Linked DNA regions of Homo sapiens: regions 1 and 3 are each linked to region 2. The links are contacts of gene promoters, found by promoter capture Hi-C in blood cells and fetal thymus (Javierre and others, 2016). All regions are on one chromosome and are shown on one strand. The core of a region is centred on a gene start or on the middle of the fragment in contact, and the rest is flanking DNA. Distances in the headings are between cores, read along the strand shown. Region 1 has its middle 41 kb from the start of SAR1B. Region 2 holds the start of CDKN2AIPNL (CDKN2A interacting protein N-terminal like). Region 3 overlaps SAR1B (secretion associated Ras related GTPase 1B).

Region 1 (3,351 bases), core at 172-2,671, 180 kb before region 2:
AGAGAGGGGAACTCCATGGGATAGTGATTGGATGAAATGAGCTCTCACACTCTCCCCAAACTCAGAGGTCCTACAAACCACATGAGGCTTTTCAGATGAGGGCCATGAAGGAGTTAAAATTGACGGGGCAAGTTAGTGCCAATCCCATGCCCTTTCTTGACTGGATGGAAGTATTCCTGGAGGGGAGAGGAATCCCTAAGATTTACTCTCTTCTTGAGAGTCCCCTCTGATCCCCGATGCCTCTACGGGGGCATGTCTACTTCTCCTGTGACATTGGCTCACTTGAGACTCTTTTTTTTTGGGACAGGGTCTCACTCTGCCACCCAGGCTGGGGTACAGTGGTATGATCACAGCTCACTGCAGCCTCCTGGACTCAGACTATCCTCCCACCTCAGCTTCCTGAGTAGCTGGGACTACAGATGCCCACCACCACACCCAGCTAATTTTGTATCTTTTTGTGGAGATGGGGTTTTGCCAGGTTGCCCAGGCTTCACTTGTGACTCTTACCTGGATGTGGCAGAGATAAGGCCCATCCATCAGACCTCCCTCCCAAGCCTCCTAGGATGCTACTTCAGTAAGGAATGGGCATGAATATTCCAGCTGGCATTTAGGGAGCAATGCTTTGATACCAAGCAACAGGCACTAGAACCAGGCAGGCTCCCAGAGTCCCAAAATAGCAGTTCAGAGTACCCACAGGTGAAAGTTTATTTTGCTGAGTCACTTTTCCTCCTTGGCTTCTACAAACCCTTGGCTGTTCTTCTGAGTTTCATGTTAATCACAACATTCAATCCCTAGCAATGGAATGTTCCTTTTTTGCAAAAGGGGTGAGGTGAGGGCACAGGAGGGATGTCCTATTCAACTACCTCTAGCCTCTCGGGTTACAAGCTTTCAGGTGTGAAGGATGATCACAGAGCTGACAAGGGGCCTGAGTAACCCACAAGGCTGGGGAGCTGTGTGGTTTTTTGGCCCAGGCAGCTGACTGTCAGATATGTGACTGAAGCGGCTTCTCTGACCATCAGCTGTTTGCAACCAGCCCCCATCTAGGGGCTGCACCGGGCCAGTCCCTAGAGTGGAACTGACCCCAGACCACCGTTGGGCTTAGGGAGGCCCGTGAAAACTTGTAAACAAACAGGGTTTACCGGCTCAGAATCCGGGAAGTGAGAGTTGGTAAACAAATCCCTCTGGCCTCCTTGCCTCTGGTCAGTCAGCAAGTCTGTGAGTGCTCTCCTGTACCACTGTGTCCTGCCCTCCTCTAACACCTTTTGTGGCTCCTCATTTTGTCCACTTCATACCCATGTCCTCTTTGAGCCTCTCAGCCACCCTGCATGGTGGGCCCAGCAGGAGCTCTCATCCTTATTAACAAATGAGGAAACTAAGGGCCAGAATGCAGGTCAATAATTTTCCATTACCCCAAGGACAACAAAATTCCATTTCTAGCAGCTTCCTCTTTCGTGGTGGATTCATGGATAAATTCTCTAGACTTGAATGGCCACATGTTGCTTAATGTTCATTGAGAATGGAGGGAAGTGGCCGGGAGCAGTGGCTCATGCCTGTAATCCCAGCACTTTGGGAGGCTGAGGTGGGCGGATCACCTAAAGTCAGGAGTTTGAGAATGGAGGGAAGAATAAGGGGGACCACCCACTAAATACAAACCTCTAGACCCGAGGCAACCCACTTGAGCATTATCCCAAAGACAGAGGCCTCCATCCCTATCAGGGAGGCCTAGGCCCCCTTCCAAGCCTGAGGAGGGATGCCTCCTCTTCTCTTCCAGTGCCTCTAGGCCCTGCTCCATGCTTCACCGTGTCACTATCCCAGCCCGACCTGGCATCTCACCCCATGACCACGCCCATGACTAATCCTGTGCTCCTAATGGCACACTCACCTGGTGACAGATGAGTCAGCCGCCACAATGGTGTTCTGATGGTGCAAAGGTGACAAGCTGAGTGGATAAAGCTTCTTCCTTCTCTCCTCTGCCCAAGTTGTGTATGGAGGCTCACCCAGCCCCATCTGCCAGCTAGCCCCACCTCACCCAGCTGGCCTCAAGTTAAAGGGCCCTGGTGAGATAGGAGAATAGGGAATTAGGGTCACCAAGGATCAAGGCATAAGCAAAAGAACAGCAGGTGCAGCCACTTCTAGGCAAGATTAGGCAGCATACAGGCCACATCCTCACTCCTGTGATAACAAGACAGAAATTTCCACTTCAGCCTCTGATTGACCACGGGCCAAGTATCCACTTCAGCCTCTGATTAGTTGCTGGCCAATCTGTCATAGGGTATAACCAACTGGAGGCCTTTAAAGGGTACCTAGGAGTGTTACCAAATTCTTTTTTTGTTTTTGAGACAGAATCTTGTCCTATCACCCAGGCTGGATTGCAGTGGCTTGATCTCCACTCACTGCAAACTCTGCCTCCTGGGTTCAAGCAATCCTCCCATCTCAGCCTCCAGAGTAACTGGGACCACAGGCACACCACCATGCTCAACTAATTTTTTCTTTCTTTCTTTCTCTCTCTCTTTTTTTTTTTTTTAGTAGAGACTGGGTTTTACCATGTTGGCCAGGCTGGTCTCGAACTCCTGGCCTCAAGTGATCCACCCGCCTGGGTCTCCCAAAGTGCTGGGATTACAGGCGTGAGCTCTAATCCACCAGCCACCAAATTCTTTTAGTTTAATAAGAACCCTAAAGAACATTGCAATGGGGCTCTGGAGCTGCTTGCTCGAGCCTGCTCCCACTCTGTGGAGTGTACTTCCACTTCAGTAAATCACCTTCATTGCTTCTTTCGTTGCTTTGTTCTTTTGTTTCTTTGTGTGTTTTGTTCAATTCTTCGTTCAGTGCGTAAGAACCTGGACAACTCACAGTCAAGACCTTCCATCCGGTAACACTGGAAAGCTTTCCCTTGCCCTCTGACCACAGCCCCTCCCCACAGGAGATGGACTTCAGAGGTCACAGATATCCCCCAACCTCTTCTCCCATTGTACAGATGCAGAAGTATCTCCCAAGTAGCTGGGTCCATCAAGTCAGTGGCAGAGAGAAGACTTCTCGCTCCTGGGTCAGCCGTAATTTCCTAGAGCAGTGTGCAAAAAGCCTTTTAGGGAAGGGAGGTGATTATAATTTCAAAAGAGCTTTGAGTTTGAGTTTGAGTTGGGGGACTTAGGGGAGTCACGGATGGTGCTCTAGGAAAAGCAGAGGCCCAACATGAACTCTTTTTAAAAAAAAACTGTTTTAAAATGGTTTCTTCTGATGGCCGGGCACGGTGGCTCACGCCTGTAATCCCAGCACTTTGGGAGGCTGAGGCAGGCGGATCACTTGAGGCCAGAGTTTGAGACCAGCCTGGCCAATGTGGCGAAACCCTGTCTC
Region 2 (3,071 bases), core at 524-3,023:
AGCCTGGGCAAAAAGAGTGAAATTTGCTCTCAAAAAAAAAAAAAAAAGAGAAAAGACATACAAGTTTATTAATGTGCATAGTTAATCACAGAGTGATTACCCCATCATCCAGAGTGTGAATATTTTAGATGGGTAGTAAATGATTTTTAGGGTAATTCAATGGGCTTGAAGAACATGCAATGGCCTGGGACAAAGTCTGTTGGGCCTGCAGAGGAGACAAGGGTTTGTGACAAAAGTCTGTCCTAGTGTGTTGACCATACTTCAGTCTTTCCTCCTGCAAAACAAATTCACTTAATGAAAACTCAGGGAGGGAACCAGAGATAATTGTTTCCTTTGGCGTTCTGGACTAAATTTAGGCAGATAAGGGAACAACTTCATCTTGTGCTTTGGGAGGAACAAAGAATTGACAGACAGGAGTGTGTGTTGGTGGCGGAGGTCACAGAGACCTTGAGGCTTCTTCATCAGTTCAGCATGTCAAAATACATTTTGGGGTGTTGGTTTCTGAGCCCCAACACCCAGTTACTGTAGTTGAATGCTTCCAGGGATGGAAAATTCACCACTTAAAAGGAAGCTCTTTTTTCTCTCAGTGTGTCTGCTACCTGAGACTCGAACAGACAGCAGAGTCATGCCAGCTAAATAAAAACTTTCAGGTCCAGCCAGTTACGATGGCTCATACCTGTAATCCCAGCATTTTGGGAGGCTGAGGGAGACGGATCACTTGAGCTCAGGAGTTCGAGACCAGCCTGGGCAACATGGCGAAACCCTGTCTCTATTTAAAACCAAGTCCAAACTTGCTCATTTCCTCTGGACACATTGTTTCTGGCTCCTTCCAGCATCTTTTGTAAACACAGGTGTCACTGTTCTGGTTAAAATCCTTCAGCGGCTCCCCATTCTTGGGATCTAGCCAGGATCCCTGCCTGGCCTACTGGCCTTGCTGACCTCTGCAACTTCATCTTCTCCATTCTCTACCTGCCCTGCCCCGCCCCCCAACCCCTCCTACCCCCTATCTTGCAATTCTCTTACCAGGCCATGCTCTCTCTTGCTTTGACCGACTCCCCTTTACTCAGAAAACTGCTCATTCTTCACTTCTCCAGGATCACTTCCCTGACCCCAAGACTAGATTGGGTCCCTTGCTTATTCATGGTTGTAGCACGCTGAACTTCTCTTTACTAATACTTGTCAACGCTGAAATTCTCCATTTACTTGAGCAATTATGTCACTAATGTCCACTCCTCCACTCCATGGTAAAGTTCAGGCGAGCAGGGCTCCGAATGTGCTCTCATTGCCTCTCCAGCACCTAGCAATGTGCCTGGCAAGTATTCACGGGATGGATGGATTACTCGCTCCAGGAAGGCGGGCCCCAACCTTCGTGGCTGTGGAGACCCCTGGAAGTCGACCGTGACCCGGGCCCCCTGATGTCGCTCAGGATGAGGCGGTGCCCGGGAAACTCTCAGGGCAAGGGCACAGCATAGCTCTGGCTGGCATCCAGCTGCCAACTGGAAGAGGGCGCTCCGAATCTGTGTTTAGGGACCTCAGTTTTCCCACCGGTTCCCCGCAGGGTCGACCGCAAAAGACCCTTGTAGCCCTGGGTAGACCCAGGGCAGGAGCCACGGGCTGCGGCGGTCTGAGGAGCCAGGAGCCGCTCTGTGCCCCCGCAGGCCGCCGCTCCGGGCGAGGGCGCTCCAGGTTGGTCTTCTGGAGCAGTCGTGCGCTGATGGGGCCCCTCTGGCCGGCAGGCGGTGGCGCAGTGCGCGTCGGGAAGGCGGCGGGCTATCCGGTCCTCGGCTGCGGCGGGCACCATGGTCGGTGGCGAGGCGGCTGCCGCAGTGGAGGAGCTGGTTTCGGGGGTGCGGCAGGCGGCCGACTTCGCGGAGCAGTTCCGCTCCTACTCAGAGAGCGAGAAGCAATGGAAGGCCCGCATGGAATTCATCCTGCGCCACCTGCCCGACTACCGCGACCCGCCCGACGGCAGTGGCCGCCTGGACCAGCTGCTCTCCCTCTCCATGGTCTGGGCCAACCATCTCTTCCTAGGCTGCAGGTGCGGACCCCTGCCGGCCGGCTGATCCTGTCCCCTATCTTCCGACCCTCAAGGCCTCTCCCAGGGCTCACCCCTGACCCGAACCTCTGCCCCAGACTGAACCCGGGCCCAACCTCCATCCGCATTGGTCGGCCCGAAGACTGATTCCCACCCTGGAGGCCCCTTGGAAAGATCCTTATCTTTGAGCCTCAGTTTTCTCTTCTGGTAAAAGGGTGGTTATGATGGCTGTAATAATTAAAGGGTGAAGAGCTAAATACATGGCGGGTTCAAAGGTTGCTATTGTTATTTGTATTACTATTATTATTAGCTCAAACCATCACCTTTGCAGTATGCATTCGAAGTCCGTTAGCCCCTGTCACCTACATGGCAAACGTGCAGAGAGAGAAACGGAGATCCCCATTTTACAGATGAAAAAGCTTAGGGAGAGAAGTGATATACCTGGGGCCATGCAGCTTCTGGCAGGATTGATGGATTTTAATCACTAATGAGAGGATGTAATCTGTATCCTATGGCTTTTTCTCCTCACTCCACAGCCCACGGGGTCCTAAGTAGGAACCAGCTTCACCTCTCTGCTTTCCCTCTTATGAAAATGGCCGATGCCTTTTTGTGAAGGTCTCAAAGCCCACTTCATCCTGGCTGCAGCACCAAAAGGACAAAGGCCCGCTTTTGAAGTGCCTGATAAGGCATTCCTTTCACCCCTCCATGAGGAAGGTGGCAAATCTTGAGACTCCCTATTAGAGAGCTTCGATTTTCCTGAAATTGTGTTAGGAAAATAGGGTGACTTGGTTTGATCTTGGTTTCTATACCTATTATGGCTGCCTGACTCTGGTCATTTGGCCCCTGCAGGCCTAAGCCACTTGGTTTTGCTTCACATATTGGGGTTTATTAGAACAGTACGTAGGGAAGCAATGCCAGAGGCACCCGTCCCTTTTCCCTGCCTTCTAGGTGCTCCTGGGAAATCCTGGTTTTCCATGGTTAGGCAAATGTCAGAGAATTGGGGAAATAAATAATGTTTTTGTTAGACTAACATTCC
Region 3 (3,277 bases), core at 444-2,943, 200 kb before region 2:
AAAATTACTCTTATGATTTCATAGACTTCAGTTAATTATTAACATTTGAGCTTCTTTTCTGAGTAAAACAATTTTGTTTTGGTTTTTTTTTAATTATTTTTTTTGAAACAGAGTCTGGTTCTGTCTCCCAGGCTGGAGTGCAGTGGCATGATCTTGGCTTACTGCAGCCTCTGCCTCCTGGGCTCCATCCTCCCACCTCAGCCTCCCAAGTAGCTGGGCAGGCACACACCACCACACTTTCTAATTTTTTTTTTTTTTTTTTTTTTTTTTTGAGACGGAGTCTCTCTCTGTCACCCAGGCTGGAGTGCAGTGGCATGATCTCGGCTCACTGCCACCTCCACCTCCCGGGTTCAGGTGATTCTCCAAGCCTGGCTAATTTTTGTATTTTTAGTAGAGACACAGGGTTTCACTATGTTGGCCAGGTTGGTCTCCAACTCCTGACCTCAGGTGATCCACCTGCCTCAGCCTCCCAAAGTGCTGGGATTACAGGCATGAGCCACTGTGTCCGGCTTGGCTAATTTTTTGTGTTTTTTTGTAGAGATGAGGTTTCACTATGTTGTCCAGGCTGGTCTTGAACTCCTGAGCTCAAGCAATCCACCTGCCTTGGCCTTCCAAAGTGCTGGGATTACAAGTGTGAGCCACCACACCCGGCCTTATTATTTTAACAAGCTTGTACCTGATATTAATTTCCTTCTGTCACTCATTCCAAATTTATCACTGGCAAAAAAAATCTGATAACTAGAAATGTCAAAAAATGAACACTGCATATATATGTAATATAAATACACACATTTTATGTATATATAATCACATATATGTAGTTTTTTTACTGCTTATATTTTAGATCTAGTAGCAGTCCTCCAATGAACTTAACGTGTATTTTTTTTTATTTTTATTTTTATTTTAAATATTCTACTCCTTACATATGATAATTGGAAGAGACTAAAGTATTTGACTTGCCCACAGTCAAGGAAAGCCTGAAATTCCCTCTTAGTTATTCTCAGAAGAATTTGGCACCACTGGGTAAAAGATTAACTTGAATATATTGTGAAGTACCAGCAGCTAAGGGATTACCGCACTTGATATCTGGTTGGACTCTTTGCTTAAACCATCTGCTGGGTTTGACCAACAAGTAAACTCTAACCCCTGATTGTTTTTGTTAGCTCGAAGAGTGTGGAAAAACTACCTTCCTGCTATCAATGGCATTGTATTTCTGGTGGATTGTGCAGACCACGAAAGGCTGTTAGAGTCAAAAGAAGAACTTGATGTAAGTTAAATAACTGAAACTAAATATAGTCAAATCACTCTGGTAAGCCTGCAGAAGTAGGTCAGAGATACAGGTATCAGAGTGCAGCTTTTCTGCAGTCTCTGATGAAACTCTTGGCAATTTGTTGAGCTCAGTGATTGCTTTAAGTAGTGATTACTTAGAATGCAGAGGGAGTAACTGAGTAATTGTAGCTATTGAGGAAGTACTAACACAGACATCTTTTATGAAGACTTAAGAAGCTCACCCTGTACAGAATGTACCCTTTTAGTATATTTCATGTCTGTTATATTCCTGGAGTGGGTTGATCTTGAGTCCCTGGTCATGCTAAGATGCTATATCTTAAGCCACAGCCTGGAAATGATAGGACATGCCATCTTTGACACTACTCCCAGGAGTGAGCAGAGGCATATGTAGCTACCTCCCCTCCAGTATCCCAGGTCAGATATTTTGTAAAGGGGCCCAACAGCAGCAGGCAAGGTCAGCACCAGATCTGGGGCCACAGAGTAAGCAGGTCCATGATTTGATTGAAGGTTGATCATACCATGGCTCTGCCCAGAGCAGGCAAACAAATACTTGTACGTGTGGAAAAGTCCAGGTAGGTTCTATGGTTACAAAACAAGGACAGAGAATGCCTGAGTTCCTACTTTGTTCCAGAGACTGTGCGTATTACTTGATTTAATTCTCAATTTCATAGGGTGGATGCTACTGTTCCTAATTCTCTCTAGAGCTTCAGTCAGGCTAACTTGCCCAAAGTCACATCTCAAAAGCAGTAGAGCCAGAAGTGAAACCACATCTGTTCACTTCTAAGGTGCTGGCTCTATACGTTCTATGTCACTCCTTTAAAGGATGAGCAGAGTAAACATTTACAGGAAGAGCCTTAGGAAGACAGAAGAATTTAGCTTATGGTTTCATTGAGGTCACTTTAAAATGTGGGGAAAGTTTGACAAAGAACGTTGGTATGACATGATATGGTAGAAAATGAGTCCTTTATTGTTTTATCATATCAAAATAAGCTCTTTGGATGGTTTCATATCAACTCTTGTTTTGTATTGTTTTGTTTTTTTCAGTCACTAATGACAGATGAAACCATTGCTAATGTGCCTATACTGATTCTTGGGAATAAGATCGACAGACCTGAAGCCATCAGTGAAGAGAGGTTGCGAGAGATGTTTGGTTTATATGGTCAGACAACAGGAAAGGTAAAAAAAAAAAAAAAATTATGATGGGTGTGTTTAATTCTACAGTACAAATGTCTTCTTAAATTACTATTGTCCAACTATACAAGCCCATTATCATTTTCTTAAAGAAAACTGTCATTTATACCTGTGGGTCTTTTTAATGTCCTCATTTCTTTCTACCATGGAATGAAACATTTTCTTGGTGACAACAAAAATGTCAAGGATGAGTTATGCCTAAGGCTTGTGCTTATAGGAAACTAAATTAAAGCTTTCAAAGTTATTTATCATACATTTTCAGAATTAGCCACCAAACGATATATTTGAGTGTTTAAGTATACCAGTAGTGTGTTTAGGCCCTGAGTTTACCAGAGATAAATAAGACATAAACTTGGAATATTTTACGGTTTTCTGAACATATACTTTATAATAAGCTTTAAGACGGATTGTTTTGGTATTCACTTTTCCTAGGATTTATTTTGGGGGAAACATCAGCATTGAAAAAATCCAGATAAACAGTGGAAGAACCCCAGAGATTTACAAAATTTTTTTAGTTTACATATACTATTTCAGGGTGGAGAAATACTGCAGCATATAGCAGGAGGCTCTTTTTTTTTTTTTTTGAGATGGAGTTTTGCTCTTGTTGCCCAGGCTGGAGTACAATGGTGCAATCTCGGCTCATTGCAACCTCTGCCTCCCAGGTTCAAGCGATTCTCCTGCCTCAGCCTCCCTGGTAGCTGGGATTACAGGCGTGTGCCAGCACGCCCAGCTAATTTTGTATTTTTGGTAGAGACGGGGTTTCTCCATGTTGGTCAGTCTGGTCTCGAACTCCTGA

The links. The method cuts DNA at HindIII sites, captures the fragments that hold promoters and counts their contacts. A CHiCAGO score of 5 or more calls a contact.
Region 1: a contact is called between a fragment that was not itself captured here and the fragment with the promoter of CDKN2AIPNL in region 2, in 3 of 17 cell types (endothelial precursors, activated CD4 T cells and naive B cells). The highest score is 6.8, in endothelial precursors.
Region 3: a contact is called between a fragment that was not itself captured here and the fragment with the promoter of CDKN2AIPNL in region 2, in 1 of 17 cell types (M1 macrophages). The highest score is 5.5, in M1 macrophages.

What each region holds. Positions count from the first base shown.
Region 1 is chr5:134,590,001-134,593,351 of GRCh38, reverse strand. No RefSeq gene overlaps it. Among named protein-coding and RNA genes, the nearest start is that of SAR1B, 41 kb to the left of the region's middle. RefSeq lists enhancers at 340-933, 1,754-1,813. The HindIII fragment of the contact is 1,068 bases long and covers 888-1,955 here.
Region 2 is chr5:134,410,583-134,413,653 of GRCh38, reverse strand. CDKN2AIPNL (CDKN2A interacting protein N-terminal like) reads left to right here and starts at 1,773. Exons shown (of 3, transcript NM_080656.3): 1 at 1,773-2,038. The coding sequence starts at 1,800. RefSeq lists enhancers at 905-1,642, 1,630-2,119, 1,643-2,381. The HindIII fragment of the contact is 16,822 bases long and covers 1-2,456 here.
Region 3 is chr5:134,607,561-134,610,837 of GRCh38, reverse strand. SAR1B (secretion associated Ras related GTPase 1B) reads left to right here. Exons shown (of 7, transcript NM_016103.4): 5 at 1,164-1,267; 6 at 2,335-2,466. Among named protein-coding and RNA genes, the nearest start is that of SAR1B, 24 kb to the left of the region's middle. The HindIII fragment of the contact is 2,044 bases long and covers 672-2,715 here.